Linked DNA regions of Homo sapiens: all the other regions are linked to region 2. Evidence: promoter capture Hi-C in 16 types of primary human blood cells and fetal thymus (Javierre and others, 2016). All regions are on one chromosome and are shown on one strand. The core of a region is centred on a gene start or on the middle of the fragment in contact, and the rest is flanking DNA. Distances in the headings are between cores, read along the strand shown.

What was found. The method cuts DNA at HindIII sites, captures the fragments that hold promoters and counts their contacts. A CHiCAGO score of 5 or more calls a contact.
Region 1: a contact is called between the fragment with the promoter of PRP4K here and the fragment with the promoter of LINC01011 in region 2, in 6 of 17 cell types (naive CD8 T cells, non-activated CD4 T cells, total CD8 T cells and 3 more). The highest score is 8.6, in naive CD8 T cells.
Region 3: a contact is called between a fragment that was not itself captured here and the fragment with the promoter of LINC01011 in region 2, in 2 of 17 cell types (non-activated CD4 T cells and fetal thymus). The highest score is 8.3, in non-activated CD4 T cells.
Region 4: a contact is called between a fragment that was not itself captured here and the fragment with the promoter of LINC01011 in region 2, in 1 of 17 cell types (naive CD8 T cells). The highest score is 5.7, in naive CD8 T cells.
Region 5: a fragment that was not itself captured here is called in contact with the fragment with the promoter of LINC01011 in region 2 in 1 of 17 cell types (total CD8 T cells); the score reaches 5.4 in total CD8 T cells.

What each region holds. Positions count from the first base shown.
Region 1 is chr6:4,020,042-4,023,049 of GRCh38, forward strand. It overlaps PRP4K (pre-mRNA processing factor kinase PRP4K), which reads left to right and starts at 1,259. Exons shown (of 15, transcript NM_003913.5): 1 at 1,259-1,425. The coding sequence starts at 1,385. LOC124901245 (a long non-coding RNA gene) reads right to left here and starts at 1,126. Exons shown (of 2, transcript XR_007059415.1): 1 at 1-1,126. RefSeq lists enhancers at 1,090-1,399, 2,442-2,501. The HindIII fragment of the contact is 11,601 bases long and covers 1,137-3,008 here.
Region 2 is chr6:2,986,398-2,989,557 of GRCh38, forward strand. It overlaps LINC01011 (long intergenic non-protein coding RNA 1011), which reads left to right and starts at 1,570. Exons shown (of 3, transcript NR_026856.1): 1 at 1,570-1,634; 2 at 3,131-3,160. It overlaps NQO2-AS1 (NQO2 antisense RNA 1), which reads right to left. Exons shown (of 2, transcript NR_186367.1): 2 at 2,939-3,160. RefSeq lists enhancers at 1,512-2,321, 2,322-3,131, 3,132-3,160 and a silencer at 2,515-2,934. The HindIII fragment of the contact is 2,996 bases long and covers 991-3,160 here.
Region 3 is chr6:4,136,618-4,139,727 of GRCh38, forward strand. ECI2-DT (ECI2 divergent transcript) reads left to right here. Exons shown (of 4, transcript NR_103764.1): 2 at 744-785. Among named protein-coding and RNA genes, the nearest start is that of ECI2-DT, 2.1 kb to the left of the region's middle. The HindIII fragment of the contact is 5,893 bases long and covers 1-3,110 here.
Region 4 is chr6:4,058,071-4,061,212 of GRCh38, forward strand. It overlaps PRP4K (pre-mRNA processing factor kinase PRP4K), which reads left to right. Exons shown (of 15, transcript NM_003913.5): 14 at 658-744; 15 at 2,343-3,142. The coding sequence ends at 2,546. Among named protein-coding and RNA genes, the nearest start is that of FAM217A, 19 kb to the right of the region's middle. RefSeq lists an enhancer at 1,125-1,419. The HindIII fragment of the contact is 4,589 bases long and covers 1-3,142 here.
Region 5 is chr6:4,036,939-4,040,275 of GRCh38, forward strand. PRP4K (pre-mRNA processing factor kinase PRP4K) reads left to right here. Exons shown (of 15, transcript NM_003913.5): 3 at 459-632. Among named protein-coding and RNA genes, the nearest start is that of PRP4K, 17 kb to the left of the region's middle. The HindIII fragment of the contact is 9,945 bases long and covers 1-3,337 here.

The sequences.
Region 1 (3,008 bases), core at 9-2,508, 1.0 Mb after region 2:
CAATCCGCCCGCCTCGGCCTCCCAAAGTGCTAGAGGATTGCAGGCGTGAGCCACCGCGCCCGGCCCTAACATTTCAAAACGTTTGGAATTCAGGCAACAAGAGACATTTTGTAAGAACATTTAAAACCCTTCTCCCCTGGAAATCAAGAGATATGTATGGAGTCTGGAGATTCCGAACTCAATTTTCTAGGACAAAGGCAAACTCAGATGATTACAAGAATGAAAGTGATCGTCACGCTGCTTCCAGGTTCCAAAGTATGGATAATTTTTTTTTTTTTTTTGAGATGGAATCTTGCTCTGTCGCCCAGGCTGGAGTGCAGTGGCGTGATCTCAGTGCAAACTCCGCCTCTCGGGTTCAAGCGATTCTCCTGCCTCAGCCTCCGGAGTAGCTGGGATTATAGGCGAGCGCCACCACGCCCAGCTAATTTTTTGTATTTTTAATAGAGACGGGGTTTCACCATGTTGGCCAGGCTGGTCTCCAAATCCTGGCCTCAGGTGATCCGCCCGCCTCGGCCTCCCAAGGTGCTGGGATTACAGGGGTGAGCCACAGCGCCAGGCGAGAAATATTTTTTTAAAGAGGAATTAAAGAACCTAATTGGTTTTGAGAGTTCTCCAAGAGCCAGTAAATGTTTTCCCCACAATATTCCATTCTACCCCATTACTGTAGAGTCGTTATAGAAGAAAACAAAATCACATAACGCAACTTGGGCCAAAAAACATTACACGTTCCAATTACGGAAATAACGAACTGAATCGTGTCACCCTTGAACTATGTAAAAGTTGAAAAGATGTTCAGTGTTAAATGTAGTAACAGTTCCACATTAAAAGATATTTACGTTCGAGTTTACAGTATTTAAAAATGCCTTTCTACACACTTTCCCGGGAAGTTAATGCCACTTCAGTTGAGCTGTCTAGCGAGATGGTTAAGCATTTACTGTGTCTCTAACACCGACCAGGGGAAAAATCATCAATTCGTTTGCCCGAGTTTAAGAGAATTTTCACCTAACTTCTAATCTCCACAGCCAATCAGTTCTTGGAACCGCACACCCGATGCCGACATCCCTCTCTTGTTGGCTCCCCTCGTTAGCGGGATTCAATAACTAAACGTCCATTTCTAGCATTGACTGAAGAGCTCAAGCTTGACACTCGACCTCAATCCTTAGCAGCACCGCCCACCATGCTCCCGGAAGCTGCGACACTACGCCCTGCGCTAGTCCCGGGACGTGGGGTTTTATATCCGGATTCTTAGCGCGGACTCAGAACCCAGCTCTTCCCTACACGGTCGGCACATGCGCGGCAGCTCTTTTCCTTCTTCCTCCACTTCCCCTACCCTCCACCGTCCGGGAGCCGCCGCCACCGCCGCCGAGGAGTCAGGAAGTTCAAGATGGCCGCCGCGGAGACCCAGTCGCTACGGGAGCAGCCAGAGTAAGTAGTCTCTGTGAGTGGGCCAGAAGCTGGAGCCCGGGGACTGCCGAGTGGGAGCTGCACGGGGTGGCGGGAAAGTTCGGGCCTAACGGCGAGAGTCAAACTTTGCTTTTTCCGGCGCGATTCGTTGTGGGGTGGGAGGCATGGGGAGCAGGCGGCCTTCGAGCTTCCTTCTCCCAGAGGCCGTGGCTGCTGGGGTGAAGGCGGCCGCGGCCTGCCGCGCGTCGTTGCCCCGGGAGGCGTAGGCGCGAGCGGCCTCTACAGGTCCGGTGCGCGTGGCGGCTGCCGCGGCAGTGAGGTCGCGCTTTCCTATGCCTCTTTTGGGGACCCATCTGAGCTCCCTGGCCGCAGCTCTTAGCGGCATCTGTGTTGGGGACACGAGGGTCAGTGGCAGCAGGCGGGCCAAGCCCTAAGTCTTTTCTTCCTCATGCGGTACCCCCAGTCGTCCTTTTACTGGTGTCAGTTTAGGACCTGAAAGCAGAGAGCGGAGGTGCTGGGGTCACACTCTCTGGCCATCCCAGAGCTAGTCTGTGGCTAGCGGGATACTTGATCTCGTCACCTTGTACTCTTTAGTCCAGCAGTCACCCAGTATTGTTTTGTTTTGTTTTGAGTGCCTACCGGCAGCTTTTTTACCAACTTGCAAACTTGAGGCAAAGTAAGATAGAGTCTTTGGTTTTGAGGCCTGGCATTTTTTTTTTTTTTTTTTTTTTGCCTGAGTTTATAACCCTTCTTTAGGAGGACGAGTGGAAGGAGTAGTGGGAATTGCTAGCTACTGCCAAACCACTTTATGTCTATAATTAAGCTAACATTAAGAATCCATGCGGCCAAATGAAAAATGAAAAAAAAAAAAATACGAGTGTATGCTGCAAAGGTTAACCATTGGTTAACTTAAAGCAGTATTTTGCTGTTCATGTCTATGTTAGGAAAACTCAAACAAGAACCTTAACAGAGAGAATGGATTTTACGGCAATGTTCCTATAGCGACCGTTTTTTTTTTTTGTTTTGTTTTTTGTTTTTTTTTGCATCTGCACTGTCTGATCTGTTTCCAGCCATCTTAGAAAGAGGTATAGTCTCCCAGCAACTTGTGACTGAGCGATAGAAGAAATCTTTGCCACCAGACAACCTGACACTTAATTGCTGTGCATCCAGTTTTGGGCTCCTCAATCATCTGCATTACTCAGCTAGGCAGAGAAACGGAATTTTTAATTAAGGGCTTTTCAAAACTGCTGTATTATTTTTACAATTTGACTTAGCAGAGAACAAATGGATTCTGAAGTTTTAAATTAGCTTTAACCTCTTACTGTTTCTCACCAAGTTCATTGTGTGGCACAATTACAGTGTTTATGCCAGTACCGTGCAGATCTCATGCTATGTGGTTACATTTTCTACTAATCTGAAAAGTTCTGTAATATTATGTCCATTTATTTGATTTTAGGGATGTTTCAGATTCATTTCCAGGAGTGGGTCAGCCATAGTTTATTCACATACTGTATTCAAATAATATTAGACTTAATAATTTCAAAAATACATATTTAGGCCTCTGCTGTATGAGTAACAGAGATAATCTTTAATTTCCCTTCCCT
Region 2 (3,160 bases), core at 320-2,819:
GGCTATTTTTTGTATTTTTAGTAGAGACGAGGTTTCACCATGTTGGTCAGGCTGGTCTCAAACTCCTGACCTCGTGATCTGCCCACCTTGGCCTCACAAAGTGCTGGGATTACCGGCATGAGCCACCGCGCCTGGCCTCATTCTACAAACTTTTATTCTGCACTCACTATAGGCTGGGAGCTACACTAGGGCCTGGGGACATGAAGACAGGCGACACGGTCCCTGGGCTCAAGATGCCAGACAGATGTGCAAACAAGTGAAATCTGATGTGATATGTGCTTTAGTGGTGCCAAGGATAAAAGGATAAGTGTTAAGAAAAAGTAGCAACAATATGTCTGACTGGGAGAATCAAGAAAGGTGTCATAGAGTCCCTAACACTTGAGCTGAGAATGAGAAAGAGCATGAGCTGGCCAGGTGACACACAGAGCATATTCCAACCTAGGAGACTGGGAAATGGGCCAAAATATATACGTTTGAGGAAACAAATAGCTTACTATATAATTAAATATGAGGCAGTTTAGACTGGGCCCTTATGGATAAGTCACACCCATAAATTTTATTTCATCTTACAGGCAGTGGAGAGCCTCTGGAGGATTCTGAGCTTCGTGGTCTCATCATCAGAGTTATGTATGGCAACCATCCCAACCTTTTTGGCACCAGGGAGGGGTTTTGTGGAAAACTATTTTTCCTTGGACAGCAGAGGATGGTTTCGGGATGATTCAAGCACATGACACTTCTTGTGCACTTTATTTTCAGTGGGAGCCCTGAGCTTGTTTTCCTGCAACTATCTGGCCCCATGTGGGGGTGATGAAGACAACGGCAGATTATCAGGCATTAGATTCTCATAAGGAGCGCACATCCTAGATCCCTTATGTGTGCAGTTCACAGTAGGGTTTGTGCTCCTATAAGAATCTAATGCTGCCTGATCTGATAGGAGGCAGAGCTCTGGTGGTAATGCAAGCAATGGGGAGCAGCTGCACATACAGATAAAGCTTCACTAGCTCACCCACTGGTGGCTCACCTCTTGCTGTGTGTCCTGGTTCCTAACAGGCTACAGACCAGTCAGGTCTGTGGCCCGGGGGTTGGGAACTCCTGGTGTATGGAAGAGACTACTCTGCAGCAATGTGGACAAATAGGATGAGGGTGAGCTGTCAGGGGAGACAGGCACACATGGCAGAGCTATTTAAAAAGGAGGATAGATGACCAGGCACAGTGGCTCATGCCAGTAATCCCAGCACTTTGGGAGGCAGAGGCAGGCGGATCACGAGGTCAGCAGTTCAAGACCAGCCTGGCCAACATGGCAAAACCTCATCTCTGCTAAAAATACAAAAATTAGCTGGGCGTGGTGACATGCGCCTGTAATCCCAGCTACTCAGGAGGCTGAGGCAGGAGAATCACTTGAACCCGGGAGGCAAAGATTGCAGTGAGCCGAGATCGTGCCATTGCACTCTAGCCTGGGCAACACAGCAAGACTCTGACTGGAAAAAAAAAAAAAAAAAAAGGAGGATAGACAGGGCTTGGGGATTGGTGGATGGGTAGATAAGGAAGGAGGAGTCTAGCATGACTCTCAGACTACTGACTTGGACCAGCAGGGGAATGGCTGTGACAATAAATAAGATTGGGAAAACAAGAAGGTGAGCAAATTTAGAGGAGAAAATGAATTTCATTTTTGGCATGGTGTGGAAGGCTCGGGAGAGAGGTCTAGGCACCAGATGTCAACGTGAGGTGAAATGGATATAGCTGAAGTCAAGGGTGTGGTGAGGTTTTGCAGGGAGAGCAGGGACCTCCAGCAAGGCCAGTGCATAAGGGAGAATAGAGAAAAAAAGAACCAGAAAAAGACAAGGAGAGGCCAGAGAGGTGTGGAAAGAACCAGGGAAGACAGTTATTCACAACAAACAAAAGAGGGCAGAGTTTTAGAGAAGGAACTGAGCAGTTTGGGGCTCCAGGTGGGGCAGGAGTGGGTGGCCACGGTTGAGGGGCAGTGGCCTTCAAATTGGTCTGGGTAGGTTCTAATGGGTCAGATTGGTCAGTCCTTTCCAGGACACTGAAGGCTGCAGAGGTGTGACTGGATGCTGGTGGAGGGATGCATGGCGGGGAAGCTGAGTCAGATCCTGAAATCCTCCAAGCATGCGCCTGAAATGACCAAGGGAAATGAAGGCGGAGGCTGCTGTCGCCTGGTGGCCTGGGAAGGGCCAAGAGCCAGGGAGCTGGAGGGAGGAGAGAACGTGCGACCTCAGCACGGAGCACTGTAGGGGAGGCGGGGCTGGAGGGAGATGGCGCCGCGCTCCCGGATGAACAGAGAAAGCGACAGGGTGAGTCGCAGGGCACAGTGTGGGATGAGTCACCGACAGCAAGGCATGGACTCCGGGAAGAAGGGGAGACGAGCCGGGAAAGACTTGCATCGGGGATGTGAGCTGAGCTGCACCCAGACAAAAGCGGCTCGGGGCTCCTGAAAGCAGCAGGCACCGCCGGTCCTGCCAAGGGGCTACTTCCTGCGCGGAGTAGGAGAGTAGGAGACCCCAGGCCAGTCCCAATCCCCGGCCCGTCCGGGATGAGGGGGGCTGCGGGAGCTGCGGGGGCCTCCTCCAGGGAGGACGGTTGCAGGGTCCCTCGGCCGCCGCCCACTCCCGGGGGCGTTCCTTCCTCCCAGCTGCGCCCGGAGCGCCTGCTGCCTGGCGAGAGCCCGCCCCTCTGCAACCAGCCCGCTGCAGCGGAGGGCGCCTGGGTGCCCTCGGCCGAGCCAGCAGCCCACGGTCGGCGCCGCACTGTCCCCTGGTGGCGGAGCGCTCCCGCGACCCGGCTCGCCACGCCTGGGAGGGGTCCAGGAGGACGCGGCTGGGACCTGGGGGCTCTCAGGGTGGGGCCTTGGGGGATGAGGCTGGGGCCCGCGGGAAACCGGGCTGGGGCGAGGAGGCTCGCAGGACTTCCTGCCACAGAATGTTTCGATGCTTTTTTTAATTCTGCAAATGTAAGCCTTTCCACTTTAAGTCCAAGCTCAGCGCAGAGGACTGTTCTATAATACATACAATTTAGTTTAAAAATGTTGCAAATGTTAACATGTGTCACAAACTCAAGCAATCCAGTATTATAGAAAGCAAAGAATGAAATGTGCTGCTTCTTTCTCCCCCAGACGCCCTTGCATACATTAAGATATGTATAT
Region 3 (3,110 bases), core at 583-3,082, 1.2 Mb after region 2:
CCTATAGTGAGCCAGGCTAATTGTAAGTCTTTGGACAACCCTGTAAGGAAAATGATATTGCCCTGTTGAGCTGATGTGGAAATTGCCCTGTTGAGCATATTGCCCTGTTGAGCTGATGTGGAAACTGAGACCCAGAAAGATTAATCAGGTGAATTCCCCAAAGACAGGAGGCTTGCAGGTGGGCAGAGTCCAAGTCTCAAGTAACTTTATCATTAAGTTTCATCAGGTAGATCTGGGTAATAGTGTAGATGGGGCAACACCAAAAGTCAAATAGAACAATTTGGGCTTATCCCAAAGAGATTTTTTTTTTTTTGAGATGGAGTTTCCGTCTTGTTGCGTAGGCTGGAGTGCACTGGCACAATCTCGGCTCACTGCAACCTCCACCTCCTGGGTTCAAGTGATTCTCCTGTCTCGGGCTCCCGAGTAGCTGGGATTACAAGCATGCGCCACCAGGCCCGGCTAATTTTTTGTATTTAGTAGAGATGGGGTTTCACCTTGTTGGTCAGACTGGTCTCAAACTCCTGATTTCAGGTGATCCACCCGCTTCGGCCTCCCAGTGTTGGGATTACAGGTGTGAGCCACCACACCTGGCCTCTCCATATATTACAAAGTGGTAGTTGGTAGGCTGAGCTGCCTCTCTCAGAGACCTTGACTCTCTCCAAGGCTGTTAGATAACCTCAGAGGTAATGGAAATGCAGTAATCAGATATTGCAGATAATACAAGACTCATTCATTTCCAGAAGATGAAACAGCTGTCATGGAAATATTTTTTAAATCTCATACTGGTAAGCATATTTTGATAGTGAAACCTTTTGCAATGCAAGCAAACTACTCTCAGGCTTATACCTACCACAGAAAAGAGTGGGGTGTGGGAAATTAGCTTATCTTTTTCAAACTATAATTTTAAAAATATAGAAAGAGCATGTGTCAAAGATTTACTTAGCTCATTAATTAGGGAACCAACAGGGTGCTAAAGAAGAAGTTAAAAGACTAGTTTAATATAGTCAATGTTAAAAAAAGAATGCTGGAATAGATTGCAAAGTTAGAAACAAAACTGGTTAATATCCCATAGAGCAATAAAACCATAACCTCGGGAGGAATGTTTTTCCTATTGGAGAAATCATTTGCATATCTACCAGCTGTCATTTACTAAAGCCCCATTATATCCAGCATTTGAGAGAAAGGAGATGGTTAAAGAGACAGACATTCCTGGTTAAAGAGACAGACATTTAGATTCCTAGATCCTAAAGAGGGTCATCTTGGGTCCGTATTTGGTTTACTAAACTGTTAAGAGGTGTCCAGACCATGCCTTGTAAACATGGCTGCCATGGCCCTGTGGGTGGGAGGGCCAGTTGCAGCAAAAGGGAACCATTGTGATTTTGGTAGATTCTCCACCTGAGCTTGAAGATCATTGTATCTGTGCTAAGGAGTTTGGATTCCGTGCTGAGAGCAAGCAGAGAGCCATTGAAGATACAATTGGCATGCCCAGCTATCCAGTTCTCAGTGAAATCCTGGACTCCAGATATATCTTCAGGGTGTAATGGTTCTGGATAAGAGTAGGAAAGGCAGAAACTCAGTCAAGACCTCTCTAAAGCTCTAATCTTCACCCTGTTATATAACCAGCTTCCCCTGGAGCTTATGAAAATCTTGGGGAGGGGGTCCTCCAGTCTGGTTAGATCCTGTCTTATTGATTGCAGGGGACTGATGCTGCCTGGGAGGGCCGTTGATGTTCTTTGGGTTGAGAGAATCTCAGACTCTCTTAGCAGGTGCACAGGAAGTGTTGTCTCCGGCTATAATGAATCTTTGGGGTCAGCATATCGACTTCACAGTGTTGTGCTCAGTGGTAGTGTGAATGTTTCTTTTTTAAGATCATAGAATAGATTATATCAGAGTAGAATGTTACATGATGACTCTGTCAGTCATGATAATTTTTATTTCCAATATTTACATCATCAGATACTGTTGTTACAGCATGTACAGAGTCTGTCACATTCAGTCTTGAGGAACAATTCTGATACACTGTCCCAATTAACAGTGCAAGCTAGAAACCTGGAAGAGTCTTTGATTCCCTTACCTCACTGACACCTCACATCTATCATTCATCAAATACTAGTGATTCTGTCTCCTAAATATATTTTTTTAATTTTCCCCCTCATCTCACATCCCTCTGCATCGTCTTAATTCATGCTCTCATTGATTTTGAGATTACTGTTACCTGGATTCCTGTAGCAGCCACTTCCCAGTTTTGCTAATTCAGTTACCTCTGCAATCCATTCTCTCCCTGCTTCCAGGCTGGTCTCCCTAAATTTTAAATCTTACACTCCACACGATTCTCCCCGATCTCTCCCCTTGGCTGAAAATCTCTTAGTGAGTCCCCTTTGCCTGTTAAACAAACCCAAGCTGCTTAGCACTGGCAAATAAGGCCCACAAGATTTGCCCTTGCCTACCTTCTCAGGCACCTCTTTCCAGCCCCACATGTTAACTTCCCATTTCAGGTGAACTTGGGATGCTCAGTTTCTCTGAGTTTCCAGGTTCTCTCATTCCAGGCATTGGCATATCCAGGAATCTCCTCTGACCCACCCACTGGTTAGTCCTGTCCTGAGTTCCTACAGTCTCCTGGGCGTTTCTTTCTTCTGGCCCCTATGTCACTGTGTTTTATATCTGATTAGTAATCTATTTTATTACAAGGGGCATATCCTGGGAAGAATTCTACCCTGTATTCAACCCCTTTCTCATTTCTGGACACACTGCTTGACAGAAAATACTGTACTCTGTGAAGGTTTGTTGGATGATGGATGAGCTGTTGAAAGTTTCCTTCTAGAGCGTGCTTTTCCACATTTGATAATAAGTTGTGAGTCAGTTGCTACCTTTTCATTAAGTTGTCAGAAGGTGTTAACATGAGTGTTTTTGTGGTTTGAAATGTTGCTTTTTCAGTGAGTGGTAGCTAAAGGCAGAGGACTTTGACTGTTGCCAAGTTCCTGTGCCGAAATGAACTGGGGAGAGTGGTACGAAGGCAACTGTGGTGTTACTTAACTCTATAAATTTCTGGGTGAAAAATCTATTATAGCTTTTTCCATTAGTCATTAAAATGATTAGTCCACGTTCAACGT
Region 4 (3,142 bases), core at 124-2,623, 1.1 Mb after region 2:
TTATAGCTCACTGCAGCCTTGAACCGAACCCCTGGGCTCAAGCAGTTCTCCTGCCTCAGTCTCCAATGTAGCTGGGACTACAGGCATGTGCCACCACAACCAGTTAATTTATTTAATAATTTTTTTGTAGAGATGGAGTTTCACTATGTTGACCAGGCTGATTTGTACATATTGTCCAAATTCTATTAGGTTGGACTTTTTTTAGAATAAGTTACATAAAAATGAGCTATGTTGGTATTAGTTTTAATGAAGTCTGACCTGTATCAGGGCTGTTGGAACATAATTAGTAAAGTGGCATTAGGTTCCCTAACTGCCAAGGAGAAAAAACCTGAGTTTTGTGATATTTTTAGGAAGAAATAATTTAAAGTCTTTGTTGACTCTCCAATTTTAAATAGTGAAAGGACAATTTGATGTTATAATTGTTTTAAGTCACTGCCTGGACAAATATAATTTCATGTTATTAAGTAGTTTTAGGTACAGCATTGGTATTTGCTTTTGCAAAGATGTTAATGAATTCCTGGGATCAAGGGAATCTGAGATCAAACAAACCTACAGAGACTAAATAACATACTTATTTGACTTATTGTATATTAATTAAATTGTTAGTAGGCCTGTTTCATAATAGTTCAAAACCCAAGTTTTTGTTTTGTTTTGTAGATGATTCGAAAAGGTGTGTTCAAAGATCAGCATTTTGATCAAAATCTCAACTTCATGTACATAGAAGTTGATAAAGTAACAGAGAGGGTAAGTGTTTTAAATGCAGCATGCAATAGTTATTTTATTGTTAACTGAGTACTAAATCATACGAGCTGGTGAATTAAAAAAAAAACAAAAACCCAAAAGTAAGTATTTCCTTTTTGCTGTCGACCAATTCCTAAATAAAACACATCAGACCATGGAAAAGATGGAGGGATTTTAAAATGTTTTTCTAGCATAATTAATTTATTTTTATTATAGGTCATATTTAGGCCCTCGTCACATCTTCTTTGGATTACTTTCTTGGTCTGGCTTCCCATCCAGCTTTCTTATTGCTGCTAGAGTGATGTTTCTGAAAACATATCTGGTCATGTTCCTATCCCTGCTTAAAAACCTTTGTTGGCTCCCTGTTACCTATGAAATAATATTTAAGTTCCTCAGAATGACAAATCCAACTGCTTTCTTCAGTTTTCAGACCTCTCTTCAGTACATTCAGAACCCCCACCTTTCCACATTTGGCCAGAAGGCGTGCTGGTTCAGACCTTTGTGCCTTTGCTAACAGACCTCCCTGAGCTTAGTCATTTCCTGTGCTGCCTCACCCCCAACCCCCTAAAAAATGTATCATCTTCAAGCCTCAGCTGAAATACACATTCTGTATGAGCCTTTTGAAAACTCCCAGATTGAAGTAATGATTTCCTTATTTTTGTCCCATTATTATAGCATATGTCCCTGTCTTTGTCAGAGCACTTAATAATACTTCAGGGTATTAACTTATTCACATGTCTGTCACTTACCACTTCAAGGTAGGGAAAGTACAGTGCAAACAGCTCATGCTTATCTTATTGTAAATTTTCATTGCTAACTTGGAGTTGACTTTTTTTTTCTTTTTTGAGACTGAGTCTCGCTCTGTCACCTGTCACCCAGGGTGAAGTGCAATGGCACGATCTTGGCTCACAGCAACCTCTGCCTCCCAGGTTCAAGCAATTCTCATGCCTCAGCCTCCCGAGTAGCTGGGATTACAATTGTGTGCCACCACGCCTGGATAATTTTTGTATTTTTAGTAGAGATGGGTTTTGCAGTGTTGCCCAGGCTGGTCTCGAATTCCTGAGCTCAAGTGATCCACCTACCTTGGGCTTCCAAAGTGCTGGGATTACAGGTGTGAGCCACCGCGCCCAGCCCAGAGTTGGCATCAACTTTTTCATTTAAGTTTTTTGGTTACCTTTTAAAAAGATGTACAGCATAGAGGAAACCACAGCAAAGTTTTAAATGAATAGATGATGATGATACAGTCATGCGTCACATAACCACAGCATACACTCACACACATCTAGGGTAAGTAGTATGGCCTTTTGCTTCTAGGCCTGAACTGTAAGTTGGTGGACTGAATACTGTAGGCACTTTTGCAAGTGGTAAGTGTATGTATGTATCTAAACATAGAAAAGGGAGAGCAAAAATACGGTATTCCAATCTTAAGGGACCACTGTCATATATGCAGTCTGTCATTGCCCAAAATGTGCACTGTGTGTATATATTTTGTATGTATATGCATGTTTTTAATATTTTTGATAGACCCCAAAACAATCTGATTTAAGTTGTATATGCTTAGTAACTTATTTAGAGATACGCATTTTAAAAATTATTTTTAGGAGAAAGTTACTGTTATGAGCACCATTAATCCAACTAAGGACCTGTTGGCTGACTTGATTGGGTGCCAGAGACTTCCTGAAGACCAACGTAAGAAAGTACACCAGCTAAAGGACTTGTTGGACCAGATTCTGATGTTGGACCCAGCTAAACGAATTAGCATCAACCAGGCCCTACAGCACGCCTTCATCCAGGAAAAAATTTAAACAAGATGAAGAAACTCCAAGGGTTTGAGTAAATACAAAGACTGAAGAAATTTCACAGCAGTTTATTAATGTATATAAACTTATAAATATTTCTCCAGCAAATTTGAGGAAGCATGATATATTTGAATTAACACCAAGGGTGATATTTCTTTTAGAGATGTTAGTTAATCTGTTTTGTGTCTTACGTGAAATTTCACTGTAGACTGTTTTAAATTGCCAAGACTGCACAAAATTACAGTGCTAATGTATATGGTTGCAGTTCACATAAAGACAAAAGCATCTGTTATGAAATGAGTAGTAATATTGGGTGGTTGATTTGTTCTTAGCAGACTTGGCTTCATTTTGGTCTTGAGATAAAATGGCCAGCATAAATGCTGTTTATATTCACGTTTTCCTAGGTGTGTGTGTGCAGGCCACAGCAGCATGCCCTTGGTGTAGTCAGTGCCGAAAGGGGTCTGTTCCTTCTTGAGCCTGCCTGCAGGGATGGTCTCCTTTTAAAGCAGGTTGTGTGCAGCATTCAGTACACTGAAGGTAAGCTAAACCATCAACATCTCTGGTGTTTTAAGATGTTATTTTATTGGAACAACTGACAAATG
Region 5 (3,337 bases), core at 108-2,607, 1.1 Mb after region 2:
TTGCGCCACTGCACTCCAGCCTGGGTGACAGAGTTAGACCCTGTCTCAAAAAAAAAAAAAAAAAAAAAAGATCCTTAATTGGAGAAATGTCAGGATGTAGAAAGAAAAAGTCGTCAATGAAAATGGAATATTTGAGTAAATGGAGTATTATACTCACTTGGGGAGGTTTTATTTGAGTTGGTTTATTTGAAATTAGAATCAGTGACTTTACCGGTATGAATAACCTTTAGTAATTTTTCAAACTGTGGGACCAGAGGAAATAAGACCTTTCATTGTTTGCCTGCAATAACACCAAAATATCACTGTAGTCACCTGAGTAAGTTTTGTTACAAAACACATTAATCAAAGTTCACTTTCTTTAGGCTAATGTGCCTTTTCTTACAGATGTTCTTTGCATATAGAAAAAAATCATTTACTTTGATTTATATTTCTTTTAACTTGCATTTGATCCCCTTAAGAACACGACCTCGAGATGATATCCTCAGTAGACGTGAAAGATCAAAAGATGCCAGCCCCATCAATAGATGGTCTCCAACCCGAAGAAGAAGTAGATCTCCCATTAGAAGGAGGTCTCGTTCCCCACTCAGACGTAGCAGGTCTCCAAGAAGAAGAAGCAGATCTCCTCGGAGAAGGTAAAGACATTTCATCCTTGTGATTCATTAAACTCTGAATGTTTTTGAACCACCAGTGAGCTCACTTGGTAGGTTTTCTTTTAGACCAGTTTTCTCTGAAAAATCGTAGTTGTGTTCCCATAGTTTCCTTTTACCAGCAATCTCTACACATGGGTTTTCTTTTATATCGTTTCCTTTGAATTTTAAACAAATCATTGCTCATTTAGGATGCAATAAAATTAGTCTTTTAAAAATAGGACTTTTTTCTCTCTTTTATCAATCAATACTAAATGAGCCAGACTTAGGGATTTTTTTTTTTTTTTAACCAGCAAGGTAGATCATGTAGTAGTAAATATATAGCCCAGTTTCTTACATTTTATATTAATTTTGCATATTGATAGTTACTGTAGACTTAGGCAAAGGCCTATTTAATTTGCCATAGAAACCATTTTATCTGAAGCATATGTAGTCAGTAATAGGTTAAAAAGGTGGTTTATAAAGCAGGGAATCATTTTTTAAAATTCATACATACATGAAATATTTTAATATAAAACATAAATGGGTATTTGTTTGCCAATCTTTTAACATTTTTAATTGAAGTAATAAATGAATATAATTTTTAAGAAACAAAGGCTTATATTATAGCCATCTTTACATATCTCTCAGAATTTTTGTATGCTGTATTCCTAGAAATGGAAATGCATGGTCTGAGTGCACTCTGGTCAATGAGGGGTTTTATTTTATTTTATTTTATTTTATTTTTTGACAGTCTCACTCTGTTGCCCACGCTGGAGTGCAATGGCGCGATCTCACTGCAACCTCCACCTCCTGAGTTCAAGCAATTCTGCCTCAGCCTCTCAAGTAGCTGGGACTAGAGGTGCCCATGCCACCATGCCCAGCTTTTTTTTTTTTGTATTTTTCTAAATAGAGATGGAGTTTCACTATGTTGGTCAGGCTGGTCTCGAACTCCTGACCCCAAATGATCCGCTCGTCTTGGCCCACTGCACCCAGCCACAATGAGGGTTTTTAATACTACCGCTTACTCATGTTTCGCTTTTGCCTAATTTCATCACACTTTTTTGTTCTTCTAGAGTCAGTATAATCATTGTGATCCTGTATGTATTCATTGCTGAGCAAATAGTTGGGAGAGGAGGGAAGAGAGGACCTCCCTTCTGACACTGCTAGTCTTCTTGCTCCAAGCTGATCTCAAGACTTGCTTTTTTCTCTCTTCCCTTTTTATAAAAAATGTCTTGTGTTCTGAAATTTATTATGTGCCTCGGTATGTAGATCTTTATCCCCATTTATTTTGCTAATTACTAGATAGGCCCTTTAAAGCAGGGAGTTTATGGCCTTCTGGGAAATTTTTGTGCTTTTTTTTTTCTTTCTTTCTTTCTTTCTGTTTTTTCCAATTGGACCTTCTATATTGTTCCACGTATTAACATTTTATTCATGTTTTCTGGAAATAGTATTTTCTGTCTCTCAGACAATAGCGAGGTTATTGTGTGAGATTTTTGTTCTTTATAGTTTTCTTTGCTATATTGTGTTTCTTCCCAGATTCCTTTTGCTGCATGTTTACTTTTCATTTGAAGACTTTTCTCACACAGCTGGATCCTTCATTGCTGCCTATTCTGAGTTAATATTTAGGTACTGAGAAAGCTGAATGGGATTTTTCTTCTATTGTGACAGTGTAGGACTTGTCAGCTAGTGGTTATCACTTCAGAGTAATTAGATATTTTTGGATATTAGTGACTGTAGATGTATTTTCTTGGGCTATGAGTTTTCCGGAATCCTTTCATTTCCTCCTGGGAAATAGACCTGGCTACCAGTAGAGTTCTCTTCCTTCATAATGTAAACTTCCTTATAATCTGTCTATCTTTGGTATGTGCCTCTCAGCATCTGGAGTGACCAACCCTTCTCTAGAAAGCAAATCTTAAGTGTTCTGCTAGAATGTGAAGGGAGTGGTTGACATTTTCCACTGAGTTGGGGAGGGGACTGTACCGAGTCTGGCTGTTTATAAAGGCTTTCAACCAATTCTGTCCTCAGCTCTTACCTCACACCATCTTGCAGAGGATAGGGAGTCTCCAATTCCTGAGGCTTTCTGGGGGTGTTGTGACATGTTCTGACTGTTTCTGATTTACCTTGTGTGTTCATGTTGGACCAATATTCAGCTCAATTTGATCTGTTACTATTCTTTACTCCAATTTGCACATTCTAAGATTTTATTCTCATCTCTGCTATCATCTCTCTTGACATTCTCCTTGCCTGAGGGTTTTCCTCCCCTCCCCACCCCACCCCTCCCTTCCCCTCCGATCTTTCTCTTTTCTCTCTCTCCTCTCCCCTCTCCCTTCTCCTCTTTTCTTTTCTTTCTTGAGGTAGGATCTTGCTCTGTTACCCAGGCTGGAGTGCAGTGTGATCACGACTCACTGCAGCCTCAACCTCCTGGGCTCAAGGAATCCTCCCGGTAGCTGGGACTATAGGCACGCACCACCACACCCAGCTAATTTTTTTGTATGTTTTGTGGAGACAGGGTTTTGCCATGTTGCCCAGGCTGGTCTCAAACTCCCGAGCTCCCTGCCTGCCTTGGCCTCCCAAAGTGCTGAGATTATATGTGTGTACCACTGCACCCAGCCCCCAGTTTTTTTTTTTTTAAGTACTCATTTACTGTCATGTTAGTGAGGTTTCTTTAAGTTGAGCTCATTGAAACATGCATATAACTTACATAAAGT